Regions from separate parts of the Homo sapiens genome. Here regions 2, 3 and 4 are each linked to region 1. Evidence: promoter capture Hi-C in 16 types of primary human blood cells and fetal thymus (Javierre and others, 2016). All regions are on one chromosome and are shown on one strand. The core of a region is centred on a gene start or on the middle of the fragment in contact, and the rest is flanking DNA. Distances in the headings are between cores, read along the strand shown. Region 1 holds the start of BHLHA15 (basic helix-loop-helix family member a15). Region 2 has its middle 30 kb from the start of OCM2. Region 3 has its middle 47 kb from the start of OCM2. Region 4 has its middle 50 kb from the start of LMTK2.

What was found. Contacts are between HindIII fragments. The CHiCAGO score rates a contact against its expected background, and 5 or more counts as called.
Region 2: a contact is called between a fragment that was not itself captured here and the fragment with the promoter of BHLHA15 in region 1, in 15 of 17 cell types (total B cells, M1 macrophages, erythroblasts and 12 more). The highest score is 11.4, in total B cells.
Region 3: a contact is called between a fragment that was not itself captured here and the fragment with the promoter of BHLHA15 in region 1, in 1 of 17 cell types (neutrophils). The highest score is 7.0, in neutrophils.
Region 4: a fragment that was not itself captured here is called in contact with the fragment with the promoter of BHLHA15 in region 1 in 1 of 17 cell types (neutrophils); the score reaches 5.1 in neutrophils.

Annotation. Positions count from the first base shown.
Region 1 is chr7:98,209,378-98,214,435 of GRCh38, reverse strand. It overlaps BHLHA15 (basic helix-loop-helix family member a15), which reads right to left and starts at 2,997. Exons shown (of 2, transcript NM_177455.4): 1 at 2,938-2,997; 2 at 1-2,180. The coding sequence starts at 2,126. The coding sequence ends at 1,557. LMTK2 (lemur tyrosine kinase 2) reads right to left here. Exons shown (of 14, transcript NM_014916.4): 14 at 4,798-5,058. RefSeq lists a silencer at 2,936-3,125. The HindIII fragment of the contact is 21,052 bases long and covers 1-4,631 here.
Region 2 is chr7:98,017,949-98,023,006 of GRCh38, reverse strand. No RefSeq gene overlaps it. Among named protein-coding and RNA genes, the nearest start is that of OCM2, 30 kb to the right of the region's middle. RefSeq lists an enhancer at 1-218. The HindIII fragment of the contact is 3,693 bases long and covers 1,055-4,747 here.
Region 3 is chr7:98,035,120-98,040,177 of GRCh38, reverse strand. No RefSeq gene overlaps it. Among named protein-coding and RNA genes, the nearest start is that of OCM2, 47 kb to the right of the region's middle. The HindIII fragment of the contact is 1,376 bases long and covers 1,294-2,669 here.
Region 4 is chr7:98,054,163-98,059,220 of GRCh38, reverse strand. No RefSeq gene overlaps it. Among named protein-coding and RNA genes, the nearest start is that of LMTK2, 50 kb to the left of the region's middle. The HindIII fragment of the contact is 2,099 bases long and covers 1,959-4,057 here.

The sequences.
Region 1 (5,058 bases), core at 1,748-4,247:
TGCCCCTCCCAAGGGGCAGACCCAGCATCCTGGAGTCCCCACCCCGAGCTGTGCTGAAGGACAGCTGGGGCGGTAGGGCCAGGACCAGACCAGGCCTCTGACAAAGTCTCATCGAAATGAAACCAATGTGCCCGGGCCACCTTAAGGGGCCCTGACCAGGAAAGTTAGGCCTGAAGCTGCCAATGCCAGATCCTCAGGGTGTTACCTGTGTCCTTACGTGGCTAGGCCTGACCCCAAGTGCCACAACCCCCAACTTGGGGAGGGCAGGGCCACCTGGTGGGGACGGGCCAGCCAGAGCCCTTGGTCTCAGCTGTGGCAGCCACATCCCTGGCCCGGCTTGGCCCTGAGGGCCTTTGGGACATCTCTGGGCAGAGGCATGAGGGAGGGGAGAGTCCAGTAGCCAAGTCCGGCAGAGCCAGTGGGGCAGGAACGCCCAGCAGAAGGAAGCTGGGCTTGGGGCAGCAGAGACGTGCCAAGCCACCAGGCCTGGCCATGAGGATGAAGCACCTGGGCGGGGGAAGGGACGTACCTGCCACCCCAAGGCTCCACCAGGCAGAGAGACCCAACGGGCTGCCAACTCAAACCAGAACCCAAGCACGTCATAATGTCCTACAGACAGCATGGTGCCAATTATATGATAACCCCACATCAGTGAGAATAAGTAACGGCGGTGGCAGGGGCTGGGTGGGGGGCACACTCGCTCCCCACACAGGCCAGGGCTGAGCAGGAGGCCTCAGAGCTGCTCTTGGGGAGCAACCCAGGGCCTTGGGGCTTCTCTCCCATGCCCAGAAGGGCTGCACCAGGAACACCCAGCCCTGTCTCCTGCTCCAGTTCCACAGCACCCCTCACACCCTGCCCCAGACCCTCCACAACCAGGCACAGCCTGGAGTCAACACATCCAGGAGCCCCAACTTGGGAGGAGGGAGGAAGAGACTCCAGCCCCTCCCCACCATTCAACTTTTAAGGATGAATTGGAGGTCATCTGATTAGAGTTTCTGGCAGCTCCAATCATCTCTGATTGGCCCCACTCCCCGAGCAGCCTTAGGCTCTGCCGGGCTTGTCCCGGGCCTCAGTTTACCCCAAATGAGGATGCTGAGCCCAGGCCCCATGTAGCCCTATAACAAAGGTTGGAGAGGGGGTCCTTGCTGGGGCTTTGGCCTTGGAAAACCTGCAGGTAAACCTTTTCCTGGGATCTCCCCTTGCCCAGAAGTCAGGGTGAAGAGACGTTAGTTCCAAGGCTAAGGAGGCCTTTCAACTCGGGCTGAGACTGCCTGGCTCAATGAAAAATCAGGATCCAACTGGGCCCTACCTAGAGGTTTGGGCCTCACGCCGCTGTCCAGGGCCACAGCCGCAACTAGGCCACTCGCTGGTCCCCAGCGGGGCAGGAAAAATTGCTCCAGGGAAGTGGCTGAATGTTCGGGGGAAAATGGAACCGCTGAGGCCGTGTCCTTGTGGGGTGTCACCGCCCATCTGGGGCTCGTGGCTTGGAGGGACTGGGGCTGGGAGGAGCAGGCCAGGCAGCTGCGGCCACCGCCACCCCCACCCAGGACTGGGCGCTAGGTGCCCTCTCGGAAGCTGTGGATCTGCGTGGAGTACCTCTGCAGGTGGCCCTGGGGCTGGGCCTCCGTGGCCCCCAACGCACCCCCAGCCACCTGCTGCTGCTGCTGGTAGTGCTGGTAGAGCTTGGGGCCCGGCCCCTCCAGGCCTGGGAGGCGGCTGCTGGACATGGTCAGGATGGTGGCCGTCAGCGATTTGATGTAGTTCTTGGCCAGCGTGAGCGTCTCGATCTTGGAGAGCTTCTTGTCCGCGCGCACGTGGGGGATGACTTCACGCAGGGCCTGGAAGGCGTTATTTAGCTTGTGCATCCGCTGCCGCTCCCTCTCGTTGCTCTCCAGCCGCCGCTGGATGCTGCTGTCACGACGGCCACCGGGCCCGGAGGGTCCTGGCCGCCTGCGCCTGCCCTCGCCCGGAGCCCTTGCTGCGGCCCGGGCCGGCCGGCTCCGCAGACCCTTGGCCGGCTCTGGCCCCGGGTTCGGCAGGGACCCGTCGGGCGTCCCCTCCCCGGGGGTGGCCTCTGTGTCCTGCACCGGGGCCCGGCGCCGTGGGGGCCGGTTCTTGGTCTTCATGGCCCTGGACTGGCTGTCCTAGGAGGTGGCGGCAGGAAGGTGAGGCCCTTGGAGCTGAAATCCAGAACACAGGACACTCTGTGGTCACCCCACATGGGCAGGGGACCCGCTGGGGTGCCGTCCCTGGCAGCCTCCTCCTTGCTGACAGCAATGGTACCAGGGGCAGGGGTTGGCGCTCTGCGACTGGAGGTCCTTCTGTTCACACGCTTAGCCCTGGGCTGACCCCACACACACCCACGCCCTTGCTTTACCTCAAACAGACCTCTGGAATCTGTCCCTGTCCCTGCGTCCCCCTTCCCCCAGGATGACTCATCCTGACCCCTAGATCTTCCTCTGGCTCATGCCCCTCACTGCCCCCAGAGTGCCTCCTGAGCTCGGTGACCTTTGACACTTTGCCTAGAATGCGTCCCCCACCCTAGCTTAGGGGGCGCCTCTGCCGGAGGCGGCACTGACTTCATCCCGTGGGCGGGCAGTGACTCCAGCCACCAGGCTCTCACTGTCCTGCCCCGCTGGACGTGACACGTGCAGGGACAGCACTGGGGCCAGAACCGCTGCGGACATGGGACAGCACTGGGGCCAGAACCGCTGCGGACATGGGGCAGCCGTGGAGGTCAGAGGTCGGCAATGGCCAGGGCCTGGCGGCAGCCCCCAATCCCACCACGTGGATGGGCCCCGTGGAGCCTCCAGACAGACCAGAAGTCCCCCACCCGGGTTTCCCCACAGCCCCCACAACCCCCACAACCCCACCGCCAGGTCCTGCCCCTGGGTCCCCTCCCCGCGGCCCCACCCGAGTTCCCAGCTCCCGGGTTACCTGGGGATCCGCGGCCACACGCGCCGAGGCTGCCCACGGGGGACAAGGACACGTCGCTTTAGCCGCCCCGGGAGGGGCCGCGGACGCATGCAAATGAGCCCTCGGGGCGGGGCCGGGGCGGGGCCGGGGTCCGGGTGTCCCGGCGGGCGCTGGGCAGCAGTGGCGGCACCTGCGGGCGGGCGGGCGGGAGGCCGGCGCCTGGGGCTCCCGGACCAGGTGGCCGCGCAGCCCCGCCCCCAGCTTCCGCCCCGCCCCCAAGATAGAAAACCTCCCCCGCCCGCCTCTCCCCATCCTCCCCCTACTGCCCCCCACCCTCGTCCCCCAAGACAGCCACCCCCGCCCGCCTCTCCCCACCATCCCCCGACAGCCCCCGACCCTCGTTCCCCCAGACAGCCTCCCCCACACGCTTCTCCCCATCCTCCCCCGACAGCCCCCCAACCGCCCCGAGATAGCTTCCCCCCATTCGTCTCTCCCCATTCTCCCGCTACAGCCCCCCCAAGACAGCCTGCGTCCCCACCTCCCCTACTCCCGTCCCCCGACAGCCTCCCCACAACCTGCTTTTCCCCATCCTCCCCCTCAATTTCCACTCGCGCCTTTCCCACCCGCCTACCCCATATCCGTGCCCGAGACAGCCTCCCCCCGCCCGCTTTCCCCGACCCTCCCCCTGACACAGCACCCCCGCATCCATGCCTCCCGCGATCCTCCTTGCCCGGCCTCTCCACTCGTGGCGGGGCCCGGGCCCATTCCGCCAATGGGAAACAGGTCTCTGGGAGCCGCCGGAAGGAGGGGCAGCCCCGATTCAGGCTCAGCACACAGATCCCAAGTCCCAGGAGCACTCCGGGACGAGCCGCTCCGCGAAAACGCGGGCATCTCCCAGGGGATCCCCCGCCCCGCCGCCCGGGATGTTTAGGGGAACCTGGGGCTCCTACGGGCTGGGGGCGGAGCCCGAGTTGGGGTGGGGGTGGGGGGCTCCTTGGGCAGGTGTGCAGTCCTTGGGAACGCCTGTTTTGTTTGTTTGTTTGTTTTTGAGACGGAGTTTCGCTCTTGCTGCCCAGGCTGGCGTGCAATGGAGCGAGATGATCTCGGCTCACCGCAACCTCCGCCTCCCGGGTTCAAGCGATTCTCCTGCCTCAGCCTCCCGAGTAGCTGGGATTACAGGCATGCACCACCACGCCCAGCTAATTTTTGTATTTTTAGTAGAGACGGGGTTTCTCCACGTTGGCCAGGCTGGTCTTCAACTCCTGACCTCAAGTGATCCACCCGCCTCGGCATCCCAAAGTGCTGGGATTACATGCGTGAGCCACCACGCCCAGCCAAAGCAGCATCTTGCTCAGGGACTATTCGGGGCTGCTAGGGGTGCGGTGACTGCACGCTGCTGGGGGTGCGGTGAGTGTCACGCTGGCTGGCAGGCCTGGGCTCCACACTCATGGGTCTCGCCGCTCTGTCTCAGTACCTCTGGGTGGGAACTCAGAGGGGCCATAGTGGGGCGGGGGGCGGGCACAGAAAGGCTAGCTTGGAGCCAAGGTTAGTTAGTTCTTCTCTTGGCCTAAAGCTCATTTGAGGCTGGGCCAAATGAGGTCCTTGGAAATGAAAATGCTTCCGAAATTCATGAGTGCAAAGGCATGGTTTATAGACATGCTTCAAGGTGGCAGGAACACTAAACAGGTTTGGTTTTCCAGTGGTTATACAAAGCTTTATGTCCTCAGGAGTGCGGGGAGTTTAGGTCTGTCACACAAGCTCCAGAGGGACCAGGGCAGGGGCCTGGAACACAGGCTGCGGGCGCTCACAGCAGGGCAGGGCCAGGCCACCCACCCAGGTGGCCCTTGCACGGTGGACAAAACACAGAAGAAACGCGGCCAACAGAGTTTATAAATATATAACTATATTTATTTTGAATATTAAATAGTTTTTAAATTACAAGCAATTTATTGAATCACACTATGCATCAATATACAGTAAAAATCTTACAATTTAAAAATGTACACAATTTAAACTGAAAGTTCATTGACTATTATATTGCCATGAACCTCTTCTGCCTGTGTTAAAGCACAGCAGGGAGGCCTGGTGGGTGTGACGGCCCCCTACGTCCTCCTCTGCAGACGGAATCCGACGGTGGATCCA
Region 2 (5,058 bases), core at 1,652-4,151, 190 kb after region 1:
AAATTCTGCATTTTCCAATTCTCTGGCCACGCGGAGCCCGCATTCGGGCCTAGTAAGTGCCCAGGAGCTGGGCTACAAATGCAGCTACCCCCTTTAGAGTTGGCCTTGGTGTCCACAGGCCTCTCTCCCAGGGGCGGGTCTGCTCAGGCCTGTGGACACCTCTCCAGCCCTGCTGGAAAAGTGCAATTCCTGGAGTGTGTTCTGACCAGGAAGGACTCCTCAGAGCTCCTGAGGAAGGCATGGGCCCCTGGCCTGAGGCTCACTGCAGCTGTCCCAACCCTGTCACCAGCTCTGGGCTGTGGTTTGGTTTGGTTTGGTTTGATTTTAGAGACACAGTTTCACTATGTGATCCAGGCTGGAGTGCAGTGGTGCAATCATAGCTCACTGCAGCCTTGAACTCCTGGCCTCAAGTGATCCTCCCACCTCAGCCTCCTGAGTAGCAGGGACTATAGGTGCCCACCACCACATCTGGTTCATTTCTAAATTTTTTTGTAGAGATGTTGCCCAGGCTAGTCTTGAACTCCTGACCTCGAGCAATCCTCCTGCCTCAGCCTCCCAAAGTGCTGCAATTATAGGCTTGCATCACCCCACCTGGCTGATTTTTATTTGCCTATTTATTTATTTATTTATTTTTGAGACAAGGGTCTTATTCTGTCACCCAGGCTGGAGTGCAGTGGCACAGTCATAGCTCACTGCAGCCTCAAACTCCTGGCCTCAAACGACCCTCCCACCTCAGTCTCCTGAGTAGCTGTTCATGCTCAACACCTGGCTCATTTTTAAGTTATTTGTAGAGATGGGATCTTGCCATTTTTCCCAGAGTGGTCTTGAACTCCTCCTGGCCTCCAACGATCCTCCTGCCTTGGCCTCCTAAAGTGTTGGGATTACAGGGGTGAGCTGTTGCACCAGACCCCAGTGTTTGTCTCTGAGGGACTTCCCCACACATGACCTCACCTGACCTTCAGAGAAACCATCCAGAGGGAAAAGGGACAAGGTCATTACCTGCGCAGGGAGAGCCCTTGGGCCGGGTAAATGGCGCAAGGTATGGGCTGAAGCTTCCCTTGGGGAGGGAAGGGACATAGGTCATGGGACAAGGTGATGTGGCCTGGACACGGTGGGGCACTTTCTCATCCTGGGTGAAAGTAAGGACGTAGGAAGGATGGGAGCATGGAGTAATAGCAGAGTGGGTGACATGAGAAAGTGGAGGCCCGGCCTGAAAACGGAGGGGGACAATGGTGGGAGGTGATGGGCGGTGGAGATGCCAGCCCGGCCCAGCCGAGACTCAGAGCTGTGGCAGCGGCGCCCCCTGGTGGCCGTGATGGTGCCTGCTTCCCCTTCCCTGGAGATTTGATGGCAACATCACGGGAGAAATGATTCAAAGCTGAGCAGGTGCCAGGCACCGTTCAATGTACACGATACATGGGTGTTTCTCTTTTAAATTTTTTATTTAAAAGATTATTTTAAAAAATTTTAACGGGCAATTTTCCTTGGGTCTTGAAGTCATCATTTCTTTTTCTTTTTTTTTTCTGAGAGTCTCATTCTTTTGCCCAGGATAGAAAGCAGGGGCACAATCACAGCTCACTGCAGCCTCGACCTCCCACCTCCCAGGCTCAAGCAATCCTCCCACCTCAGCCTCCCGAGTAGATTGGACTACAGGTGCACACCACCACGCCCACCCAATTTATATATATTTTTTGTAGTGAGGAGATCTCACTGTGTTGCCCTGGCTGGTCTTGAACTCCTGTGCTCAAGTGATCCTCCCACCTCGGCCTCCCAAAGTGCTGGGATTACAGATGTGAGCCACCACGCCCAGCCTGCGTGGGTGTTTCTACAAAATCTTAAGTATCTCTCACAGCAACCCTGTGATTGCCACTATTATCACTATCCCTTTTCACAGCTGAGGAGACCCAGGTTCTGAGAACTGAGGACCGTGATATATCCTATGCAGTGCTATACTGGGATTTGAGAAACCCAGGCCCACCCAACCCACTTCAAAAACAAAGGTAGGCCAGGCGCAGTGGCTCACGCCTGTAATCCCAGCACTTGGGGAGGCCGAACCAGGTGGATCACTTGAGGTGAGGAGTTCGAGACCAGCCTGGCCAATATGGTGAAACCCTGTCTCTACTAAAAATAGAAAAATGAGCCAAGCATGGTGGTGGGCGCCTGTAGCCCCAGCTACTCGGGAGGCTGAGGCATAAGAATTGTTTGAACCTGGGAGACGGAGGTTGCAGTGAGCTGAGATCGCGCCATTGCATTCCAGCCTGGGTGACAGAGCAAGACTCTGTCTCAAAAAAAAAAAAAAATGTAGATCCAGCAATTCCACTTCTGGGTAGATGCTCCAAAGAATTGAAAGCAGGGACTCCAGCTGATATTTGTGGGATTTTTTAACCTCTTTTTTTTTTTTTTTTGAGATGGGGTCTGACTCTGTCCCCCAGGCTGGAGTGCAGTGGCAAGATCATAGGTCACTGCGGCCTCAACCTCCAGGCTAAAGCAATCCTCTTGCCTCAGCCGCTCAAGTAGCTGGGACTACAGGCATTCCCCACCATGCCCAGCTAACTTTTTTATTTTTTGTAGAGATGGGGTCTTGCTATGTTGGCCAGGCTGGTCTCAAACTCCTGGCTTCCAGCAATCCTCCCACCTCAGCCTCCCAAAGTGCTGGGATGACAGGCCTGAGCCACTGCACCCGTCCTCAACAGATATTTGTACACCCATGTTCATTGCAGCATTATTCACAATAGCCAAGAGGTAGAAGCAACCCAGGAGTCCACCTACCAATGAATGAACAAAATGTGTCTGTCCATACAATGAAATATTATGTAGCCCTGAAAAGGAAATAAATGCTGACACCTGCTACTGCATGGAGGAACCTTGAGGACATTATGCTCAGTGAAATCAGACAGTCACAGCTGGGCGCTGTGGCTCACACCTGTAATCCCAGCACTTTGGGAGGCTGAGGTAGGAGGATCACTTGAGCCCAAGAGTTCAAGACCAGCCTGAGCAATAAAGTGAGACCTCATCTCTACAAAAAAATTTTAAAAGCCAAGTGTGGTGGTGTATTCCTGTAGTCCCAGCTTCTAGAGAGGCAGAGGTGGGAGGACTGCTTGAGCCAGGGAGGCAGAGGTTGCAGTGAGCAGAGATCATGCCACTGCACTCCAGCCTGTGGGACAAAGCCAAACCCTGTCTCAAAAAAAAAAAAAAAAAGAAGAAGAAGAAGAAAGAAGGGAAGGAAGGGAGGGAGCGGAGGAGAGGAAATAAGTCAGTCACAAAGAGGCAAATATGGCCGGGTACAGTGGCTCACACCTGTAATCCCAGCACTTTGGGAGGCGGAGGAAAGTGGATCACTTGAGGTCAGAAGTTTGAGACCAGCCTGGCCAACATGGTGAAATCCTGTCTCTAATAAAATACAAAAAATTAGCTTGGCATGGCGGCGCACGCCTGTAATCTCAGCTACTTGGGAGGCTGAAGCACAAGAATCACTTGAACCCAGGAGGCAGAGGTTGCAGTGACCCAAGATTGTGCCACTGCACTCCAGCCTGGATGACAGAGTGAGACTCGTCTCAAAAAAAAACAACAAAAAGGCCGGGCGAGGTGGCTCATGCACTTTGGGAGGCTGAGGTGGGTGGATCACCTGAGGTCAGGAGTTCAAGACCAGCCTGGCTAACATGGCAAAACCCCGTTTCTACTAAAAATACAAAAAAATTAGCCGGGCGTGGTGGTGCGCGCCTGTAATCCCAGCTACTCAGGAGGCTGAGGCAGGAGAATCGCTTGAACCTAGGAGGCAGAGGTTGCAGTGAGCCGAGATTGCACCACTGCACTCTAGCTTGGGCAACAAGAGCAAAACTCCAAAAAAAAAAAAATGGCAAATACAGCATGATTCCACTTATATAATGTACCTAGAATAGTCAAACTGATAGAGACAGAAAAAAAGTAAAATGTTGGTTATCAGAGCCTGGGGATAAGGGGGATGGAGAGTGAGGGTTAATGGGGACAGTTTCAGTTTGGGAAGATGGAAAAGTTCTGGAGATGGATGGTGGTGACAGTTGCATAATATTTTGTTTATTTCTCTCTCTGTCTCTCTTTTTTTTGAGACAGAGTCTCGCTCTGTTGCCCAAACTGGAGTATGGTGGCGCAACCTCGGCTCACCACAACCTCCGCCTCCCAGGTTCAAGCAATTCTCCTGCCTCTGCCCCCTGAGTAGCTGGGATTATAGGTGCACACCACCACACCCAGCTAATTTTTGTATTTTTAGTAGAAACGGGGTTTTGTCACGTTGGCCAGGCTAGTCTTGAATTCCTGACCTCCTGCCTGCCTCAGCCTCCTAAAGTGCTGGTGTTACAGGCGTGAGCCACCATGCCCAGCCCGGTTGCACAATATTTTTGATGTAATAAATGCCACTGAATTGTACCCTCAAAAATAGCTAAAATGGCAAATTTTATGTTATGCATATTTTACCATAATTAAAAAAAAAAAAAAGCAAGTGTAGGATCCACTCCCAGCCGGGGCTCTGGCCCTGCCCTGGCCCCACAATGGAGGAAGGTGCTTCTCTCCCATTAAGGTGGACACGCATTGACCAGGATTTTGAGCATGTGGTTTTTCCCTTCCCTAGCCCGGGCCTCGACCTTCTATGACAATCCGCTTTCCTCTTTCATGTGATTTTACTTTCCCAGACTGGAACATTCGCTTTCTGTTCACTTTACTAAACGACTCTTAGACATCCAACCCCTCTCTGTCCTCTCTCTTCCCTGAAGCTTCCTTGGCACACGACACACCTAGGCAAGCCTGGGTGGGTAGAGGAGTGGTTCACCCCATCCCTGGAACAGGCTCAGGGGCTTTCGGGCATAAAGGCCTCCTCCCTGGCTTGATGGTCAACCTGTGCCCAGTGTCACATCCATCAAATGACTTTGTATTTCCCAGCTTCTCTTCCACCCCCACTCTCTTGGGAGAGGTCAGGCCCTTCCAGCCCAGAGTAGGGGTCAGTGTGGACCTGGGATTTGATGTATACTCTAAACTTGGAGAAAAAAAATGGTTAAAAAGTCCCCCAAGGGCAGCAGGAAATCAGGC
Region 3 (5,058 bases), core at 732-3,231, 170 kb after region 1:
AATTGGTCCTCATCAATGGAAGCTATTGTCACGACTGTGCACAGAAACACACCCTTGACCTATAGAGAAATTATGAGGACGTGGTCGTAGGATGGCTTGGCATCACGTGGAAAGATGGGTTTGTGCCAGTGGGGAATTTCTTAGGGAAGATGGGTGCTCTTTATCTGCTGTGAGTTGAGTTGTGTGTCCCCAAAAAGATAAGGTGGAGACCTAACCCCGGTACTGTGAGTGTGACCTTATTTGGAAACAGTCTTGTTAGCTGTCATTAAGATGTAAGTTAAGATGAAGTCAGACTGGATAAGGGAGGGCCCTAAATCAAGTGACTGATGTCCTTTATAGAAAGAGAAGAGGGCCAGGCACAGTGGCTCACGCCTGTAATCCCAGCACTTTGGGAGGCCAAGGCGCGTGGATCACGGGGTCAGGAGTTTGAGACCAGCCTGACCAACATGGTGAAACCCCATCTCTACTAAAAATACAAAGATTAGCCAGGCATGGTGGTGGGCATCTGTAGTCCCAGCTACTCGGGAGGCTGAGGCAGGAGAATCGCTTGAACCCAGGAGGCAGAGGTTGTGGTGAGCCGATATCATGTCACTGCACTCCAGCCTAGGGAACAGAGCAAGCCTCTGTCTCAAGAAAAAAAAAAAAAATTAGCAGGGCATGTGGTGTGCTCCTGTAGTCCCAGCTATTTGGGAGGCTGAGGCAAGAGGATTGCTTGAGCCCGGGAGGTCAAGGCTGCAGGGAGCTGTGATTGCACCACTGGACAACAGAGCTAGACTCTGTCTCAAAAAAAAAAAAAGTTAATTAAAAAAACATAAAAGGGGCCAGGTGCAGTGGCCTGTAATCACAGCAATTTGGGAGGCCGAGGCAGGTGGATCACTTGAGGTCAGGAGTCAGAGACCAGCCTGGCCAACATGGTGAAACCCTATCTCTACTAAAAATACAAAAATTAGGTGGGCGTGGTGGCAGGTGCCTGTAATCCCAGCTACTCCGGAGGCTGAGGCAGGAGAATTGCTTGAACCCTGGAGGCGGAGGTTGCAGTGAGCCGAGATCACACCATTTCACTCCAGTCTGGGTGACAGAGCAAGACTCCATCTGAAAAATAAATAAATAAATAAAATAAAAGGAACTCTGTAACCAGCTCTTTCTGATTCCAAAGGGTGGCCAGGAAGCTGGCATCGTTCCTCAGGCACGGGTGGGAGAACCAGAGCAGGCTCCTCTCCCCCACGGTGCCATCTGTGCCCAAGAACCGCTCTCCCCACGTGGCTGGCTCTATTTCGGCAAGAGAAAGAAGCTTCTCAGATGTGAAGCCCACGGGAGACCCACACGTATGAAGCAGGAGACCAAAAAAAAAAAAAAAAAAAAGGCAGCTCAAAATAGATTCTGTCTACAGCAGAAAATGACCTGGTGCCAGAATGGAGAAAAGTGGCCAAAACGAGCCAGTTTCGAGGCTTTCTAGGGTGCACGCCAGCATTCTGTCTGGAACAGGGGGTACCTCGGGGACTTCAGGATTGTGTGGGCCCCTTGTGGGGTGCAGACGAACCTCCCCCTTCATTCAGAAGCCCGCCTCTATGGCCTGGCCTTTAAAAAAAAGCCATCTCCCGGGATGAACTGGAGGCAGAAGCCACAGCAATTACTTGGAAGGAAGATCTGACTGCAGAAACACAGTGATCTGCATAGCGAGATGTTTCTAAGGCTTGTGGGAGAAAGCCATGGTGGTTTCCAAGTAAACGGCTTTTTACAAATTAAGCACAGCTACAGACAACAGAAGCAAAAAATAGATAAATTGGATTACCTCAAAATTTAAAACTTTTGTGCATCAAAGGATACTATCGTCATAGCAAAAAGGCAACCCAGGAGAATGGGAGACAATATTTACAAGTCATATATATATATATGTCTTGTAAAAATATATTCTTTCTTTGAGACAGGGTCTCGCTCTGTCACCCAGACTGGAGTGCAGTGGTGAGATCTCGGCTCACTGCAACCTCTGCCACCAGGGTTCAAGTGATTCTCGTGCCTCAGCCTCCCAAGTAGCTGGGATTACAGGCACCCATCACCATCCTCAGCTAATTTTTGTATTTTTAATAGAGACGGGGTGGGGGGGTTTCACCATGTTGGCCAAGCTGGCCTCGAACTCCTGACCTCAAGTGATCCGCCTGTCTTGGCCTCCCAAAGTGCTGCGATTACAGGCGTGAGCCACCACGCCTGGCCCACAGGTTATGTATCTGATAAGGGGTTAATATCCAGATTATGCATAAAGAACACCTATAATTCAACAGTTTTTCTTAAACCTGATAAAAATGGATTTGAACAGACATTTCTCCAAAAATACACAAATGGCCAATAAGTACATGAAACGATGTTCACCATTATGAATCATTAGAAAAATGCAAATCAAAACCACAGTGAGATAGAGCACTCTACCCATTAGGATGGTCACTCAAGAAAAAATTGAAAATGAGTGTTCGTGAGGATGTGGAGAAATTGGAACTCTTGCCTACTGCTGGTGGGAATGGAAAATTGCACAGCCATTGTTGAAAATAGTTTGACAGCCCCTCAAAAAATTAAGTCAAAAATAGGGCCAGGTGTAGTGGCTCATGCCTATAATGCCAACACATTGGGAGGCCAAGGCGGGAGGATCACTTGAGCCCAGGAGTTTGAGACAAGCTTGGGCAACATAGTGAGCCCCCATCTCTACAAAAAAAAAAAAAAAAAAAACATACAAAAATTGGTTGTGTGTACTTATAGTCTCAGCTACTGGGAGGCTGCAGGAGGAGGATCGTTAGAGCCTAGGAGCTGGAGGCTGCAGTGAGCTGCACTCAAGCCTGGGCAACATAGTGAGATCCTGTCTCTAAAAAAAACTTTTTTGGGCCAGGTGTGGTGGCTCACGCCTGTAATCCCAGCACTTTGCGAGGCTGAGGCAGGCGGATCACCTGAGGTCAGGAGTTCAAGACCAGCCTGGCCAACATGGTGAAATCCCCATCTCTACTAAAAATACAAAATTAGCTGAGCGTGGTGGCACGTGCCTGTAATCCCAGCTACTCAGGAGGCTGAGACAGGGTAATCACTTGAACCCGGTGGTGGAGTTTGCAGTAAGCCAAGATTGTGCCATTGCACTCCAGCCTGGGCAGCATAGAATTACCTTATGAGCTAGCATTCCAAAGAACTGAAAGCAGGAACTCAAACTATTTGCACACCCATGTTCACAGCAGCATTATTCACAATAGCTAAAAGATAAATACAATCCTGCGGGTACAGTGGCTCATGCCTGTAATCCCAGCACTTTGGGAGGCCGAGGCAGGCGGATCACGAGGTCAGGAGATCGAGACCATGTTGGCTAACACGGTGAAACCCCATCTCTACTAAAAATACAAAAAACTAGCCGGGCATGGTGGTGGTGGGTGCCTGTAAGTCCCAGCTACTCAGGAGGCTGAGGCAGGTGAATCGCTTGAACTCAGGAGGCGGAGGTTGCAGTGAGCAGAGATTGCACCACTGCACTCCAGCCTGGGTGACAGAACGACAATCTGACTAAAAAAAAAAAAAAAAAAAAAAAAGATAAATGCAACCCAACTGTCCACCAGCGGATGGATGGGTAAACCAAATGTGGCCTATCCATACAATGGAAGATTATTCAGCTTACAAAGGAAACAAATCCTGGCACACGCTACAACATGGATAAACCTTGAGGACATTGTATTAAGTGAAATAAGCCAATCACAAACGGACAAATCCTGAATGACTCCACTTATATGAGTTACCTAGAGTCTCAAAATTATAAAGGCAGAAAGTAGAACAGCGGGTGCCAGGAGGTGGGGGGAGGCGGATGGAGAGTGAGTGTTTAATGGGGACAGGGTTTCAGTTTGGAAAGATGAAAAAGTTCTGAAGATGGAGGTGGATGACGGTTACATCACAGTGTGAAAGTATTGAATGTCATTGAACTGTATGCCTCAACATGGTTAACATGGCACGTTTTATGTTATGGACATTTTAAAACTATTTTTGAAAACGTTTTCAGGCCGGGTGCGGTGGCTCATGCCTCTAATCCCAGCACTTTGGGAGGCTGAGGTGGGTGGATTACCGGAGGTCAGGAGTTCAAGACCAGTCTGATCAATATGGTGAAACCCTGTCTGTACTAAAATTACAAAAATTAGCCAGGCATCATGGCACACATCTGTAATCCCAGCTACAGGGGAGGCTGAGGCAGGAGAATCGCTTGAACCCAGGAGGCGGAGGTTGCAGTGAGCCGAGATCGTGCCACTGCACTGTAGCCTGGGTGACAGAGTGAGACTCCATCTAAAAAAAAAAAATAAGTAAAATAAACAATTACTAAATAAATAAAATAAACATGTTTTAATAACTAGTGAACTAAAAATTTAAAAAATCACAAGATTCCCTTCCATAAATTCAGGAAACATCTAGAAATCTGCCAATCTATGGTGGAGTGAGCAGCTTCAGGGTCAGACATCCACAAGTCATCCCCAGTTGCCCGGGATCCAGGCCCCCTCAGCTCATAAGGAGGAAACAAACAATGGAAATCCAACCCAACCCCCTTCTCTTTCTTTTTCTTTTCTTTTCTTTCCTTTTTTTTTTTTTCGAGATGGAGTTTTGCTCTTATTGCCCAGGCTGGAGTGCAGTGGTGCGATCTCGGCTCACTGCAACCTCTGCCTCCCGGGTTCAAGCGATTCTCCTGCCTCAGCTTCCCAAGTAGCTGGGATTACAGTCATGTGCCACCACACCCGGCTAATTTTTTGTATTTTTAGTACAGGCATGGTTTCACCATGTTGGCCAGGCTGGTTTCGAACTCCTGACTTCAGGGGATCCACCCGCCTCAGCCTCCCAAAGTGCTGGGATTACAGGCGTGAGCCACCGCACCCGGCCGAGACTGGCATTTGAATCAGTGAATTGTGTAAGGGAGTTCTGCCCTCTCCCAATCTGGGCAGGAACCACCCAATTGTCAGTGGGCCTGGAGAGGATAAAAGAGCAGAGGAAAGAATTCTCTGTCTCTCTCCTGGACCTGGGACACCCATCTTCTCCTGCCCTTGGACATCAGAATTTCCG
Region 4 (5,058 bases), core at 1,759-4,258, 160 kb after region 1:
ACGCTTCCAATCACGGTGCAAGGCAAAGTGGGAGCGGGCGATCTTACATGGCAGGAGCAGGAGCAAGAGAGAGAAGGGGAGGTGCCACACTTCTTTCTTTCTTTCTTTCTTTCTTTCTTTCTTTCTTTCTTTCTTTCTTTCTTTCTTTCTTTCTTTCTTTCTTTCTTTCTTTCTTTCTTTCTCTCTCTCTCTCTCTCTTTCTTTTCTTTCTTTTTCTTTCTTGTCTTCCTGCCTGCCTGCTTGCTTGCTTTCTTGCTTGCTTGCCTGCGTGCCTTCCTTCCTTCCTTCCTTCCTTCCTTCTTCTTTCTTTTTTTTTTCTTTTGAGGCAGAGTCTCCCTCTGTCACCCAGGCTGGAGTGCAGTGGCGAGATCTTGGCTCACTGCAACCTCTGCCTCTCTGGTTCAAGCGGTTCTCCTGCCTCAGCCTCCAGAGTAGCTGGGATTACAGGTGCCCGCCACCACGCCCGGCTAACTTTTGTATTTTTAGTAAAGGCTGGGTTTCGCCATGTTAGCCAGGCTGGTCGCGACCTCCTGACCTCAGGTGATCTGCCTGCCTCGGCCTCCCAAAGTGCTGGGATTACAGGCGTGAGCCACCGTGCCTGGCCGCATTTCTACTGTTTTAAGCCACCACCTCTGTGGTAACTGGTTACTGCAGCCACAGGAAACTAACGCTTTTGTAAACCCCAGTCTGTCCCCTGGCCCCTACCCCAGCAGCTGGAGCGATCTTTTAGGCCACGTCCCTCCAGCGTCCTCCCCTGCCATGCAGAATGAAATCCACCTTCCTCCCACAGCACCAGGCTCCCTGCCAGCACCCCGGCCATACACCTCTCCCCATTCCTCTCCTCTCCTCCCACACTGGACTCCACCCATCAGCTATCATCTGCTTGAAGTCTTTTGTTTCTGGAAACTTCTGTTCCAAGAAAACCTGCCGAGCTCGTTCCCACATTGGGTCCTACATGGTCATTGTTCTCTGTTGCGGGACGTCCTTCTTGTGGCTCAGTCAGTGGTTGACTTTTCCTCCTGTGGGACACGTGATCTGGCAACATTTTGGTTGTGGGGACTTGGGGGCTGGGGGATAAGAAGAGGGCTACTGGCATCCAGCGGGCAGAGGCCATGGATGCCGCTCAACACCCTATTGGGCACAGGGAGCACAAGATAGCCCAGTTCCTCCAACTGCAAAGAACTATCTAGCTCCAAACATCCACAGTGCCCAGGTGGAGAAATCCAGTTTCACATCTTTCCATAACTCATTCCTTAACTCTGTCCTTTTTGCCTTTCAGGATTCAGCTCCAAAGCCACCTTCTCGCAGTGGCTCACACCTGTAATCCCAACACTTTAGGAGGCTGAAGCAGGAGGATCATGAGGTCAAGATTTCGAGAACTTCCTGGCTAATATGGTGAAACCACATCTCTACTAAAAATGCAAAAATTAGCTAGGCTTGGTAGTGCATACCTGTAATCCCAGCTACTTGGGAGGCTGAGGCAGGAGAATCCCTTGAACCTGTGAGGCAGAGGTTGCAATGAGCCGAGATCGCACCACTGCACTCCAGCCTGGCAACAGAGCGAGACTTTGTCTAAAAAAAAAAAAAAAAAGCCACCTCTTTCTCCAAGAGACACTGTCTCACTATCCATTGTAAAGTAGCACTCCTCCCCATCACCTGCCTTCATTTTCTTGTTTCGTGAGAATGGGGTCTCACTATGTTGCCCAGGCTGGTTTGAAGTCCTGGGCTCAGGCGATCCTCCCACCTCTGCCTCCCTAAGTGCTGGGATTATAAGCAGGAGCCACCATGCCCAGCCAAGCTTCATTTTCATCTACCATTATTACTATTGTTATTTTAAGAGATGGGGTCTCACTATGTTGCCCAGTCTGGTCTCAGGTTCCTGGGCTCAAGCAATCCTCCTGCCTCTGTCTCCCTAAGTGCTGGGATTATGGGCAGGAGCCACCATGCCCAGCCAAGCTTCATTTTCATCTACCATTATTACTATTATTATTTTAAGAGATGGGGTCTCACTATGTTGCCCAGGCAGGTCTCAACCTCCTGGGCTCAAGCAATCCTCCCACCTTGGCCTCCCAAAGTGCTGGGATTCCAAGTGTGAGCCACAGTGCCCGGCCTGGCCTCATTTTCTTCAGGACCTCATCATCACTTGAAATCATCCTGCTTATTTATTTTTTGTTGTTTTTGTCTGCCTCCCCGCTCCCAGCCCTCCCCAAGACATCCCAGAAGATTTTCACAGCCACTGTGGATGGGAATTATTACTGTCTAGCCATCTCCGCCCCCGTCATCACCCCCGCCACCCCCAGGGAGTCATTAATTGAAGGTTTGTTCTTTCCTTGTAGCCAGCAGATACTTTTCCCCCTCTCCTAGATCTCCTTCTGAAGGTGAGTGCTGCTGGCTTGGACCTGTCTGAACAAGCATCACTTTATGCGGTTTTACTGGTACTTTCTAGTCTTGCCAAGGCTGTGAGGGTGGCTGTAAAGACGGTCGGCCTAGCTTTGCGTTGGAACAAGCTATTGAGGCTGTCCTGTTCCTTCTGAACACGCCTCATTGACTGGGTGTTTCCCTGTGGTCTAGACATAGCCCTGGAACCAGAGCCGAGGCCAAGGTCCCAGCAAATCTAAACCTCCTCTTATTTCAGAATTAGAATCCCAAGATAACAGGAGAAGGGGAGCTGTTATGGGCTGATCATGTTCCTCCAAAATTCATACGTTGAAACCCTAACCCCCATACCTCCGAATGGGACTCTATCTGGAGACGGGGCCTTTAAAATGGTGATTAAGTAAAAATGAGCCAGTCAGGGCGGGCTTTAATCCAGTACGACTGGTGTACTTATGAGAATAGATTAGTGGCCAGGCACGGTAGCTCACACCAGTAATCCCAGCAATCTGGGAGGCCGAGGTGGGAGGATCACTTGAACCCAGGAGTTCAAGATGAGCCTGGCCAAACTGATGAAACCCTGTCTCTACTAAAAATACAAAAATCAGCCAAGCATGGTGGCACACACCTGTAGTCGCAGCTACTTGGGAGGCCAAGGCAGGAGGATTGCTTGAGCCCGGGAAATGAAGGTTGTGGTGAGCTGAGATGGCGCCACTGCACTCCAGCCTGGATGACAGAGAGAGACCCTGTCTCAAAAAAGAAGGAGAAGAAGAAGGAGGAGGTGGAGGAGAAGGAGAAGTGATTAGCACACAGACACACACGGAGGCTGACATATGAAGACCCAGGAGGAAGACAGCCATCTACAAGACAAGGAGAGAGAGCTCCAAAGGGCACCAACCCTGCCAACACCTGAACTGTGGGCTTCTGGCCTCAATAATTGTGAGACAACACATTTCTGTTGCTGAAGCCACCCGGACTGTGGTATCTTGTGATGGTGGCCCCAGAGAACTAATACAGGGGCCAGCCTAGGCTCTAACCCCTCACTCCTCAAGCACTGTTAGGAAGGTAGCCTCATCTCCCCAAGGGTCCTATTCTTCCTTTGTAGCAAGGAGATGGTAAGATGCTTCTACTTTATTGAGCTGCTATGAAGAGCAAATGAGATAGACCTGATGTTTGTTTCTTTTTCTTTCTCTTTCTCTTCTTCCTTTGTTCCTTCTTTTCTTTCTTTTTCCTTTCCTTTCTTTCCTCTCCTCCCTCCCTCCCTCTTTCTCTTTCTTTCTTTCTCTTTCTCTTCCTTCCTTTCTTTCTTTCTTTTCTTTTCTTTTTCTTGCTTTCTTGCTTCTTTCCACAGACTCTTGCTCTGTCACCCAGGCTGGATTGCAGTGGTGCAATCCTGGCTCACTACAGCCTCAAATTCCTGCGCTCAATCAATCCTCCTACATCAGCCTCCTGAGTAGCTGGGACCACAGGTGCATGCCACCATGCCTGGATAACTTAAAAAGTTTTTTTTTATTTTTATTTTTTTGTAGAGATCGGGTCTCGCTCTGTTGCCCAGGCTGGTCCTGAATTCCTGAGCTCAACCAATCCTCCTGTCTTGGCTTCCCAAAGTGCTGGGATTATAGGCATGAGCCACCATGCCCAGCTAAGCCAACCCTTCTTGAGAGCACCAAATATGCCCCAAGCTTTTGTGCATGATCTAGTATGCACCTACCTTGTTCAATTCTCCAGCAACTCTTGGCAAGGGTTCTGTTTTATCCATTTTACAGTTCAGGAAACCAAGGCCCAGAGAGATCAAGTAACTTGCTCAAGAGCACACCAAGATCAGCACAGATATGGCGCTGAATGTGAATGCAAGTTTGCCTAAATCCAAAACCCAGGTCTTTAACCACAAGGTAGGTATATGGTACTCTGATGTACAGGAGAGCCCTGCACTTATTAGTTCTATTATTTACAATATACTAGTAAGTTACTATTCACCACTAAAAAAAAGTTGAAGGCCAGGCACAGTGACTCACACCTATAATCCCAACACTTTGAGAGGCTGAGATAGGAGAATTGCTTGAGGGCAGGAGTACAAGACCAGCCTGGGATCCGATCTCTACTAAAGATCTTTAAAAATTAGCCAGGCATGGTGGCACATGCCTGTGGTCTCAGCTACTCAGGAGGCTGAGGGGGCAGGATCACTTGAGCCCGGGAGGTTGAGGCTGCAGTGAGCTATGATAGCGCCACGGCACTCCAGCCTGTGCAACAGAGCAAGATCCTATCTCTAAACAAAACTTTAAAACTAAGAAAAATAATTTGTGCAGCCATCACTGTGATCCATTTCCATAACTCTTTCATCATCCCAAATAAGATGTCTGAACCTATTAAAGGTTCAGAGGGCACACAGACTCCACTTTTCAGGAGAGGTCTATCAGTCAATTTGTAAAAAGAGCACATAGGATAGATAAATATATTGATGAGGACATCTTTGAAAAATACAGTCTGCTCCAGATGAGGAGGCTGAATACATAAGTGCTAAGACATTGCTCAGTCATAGAAATGGCCATGGGTAGAGGTGGCTGATCATGGACAACGTGATTTGGGGCTTGGCAAAAATATAGTATTTTACATGGTGGGAAAAAGGAAGCAAAGACAGCCAACACCGGCTGGAGAAAAGCCTAAGACTTGGCAACTCCTTTTTGA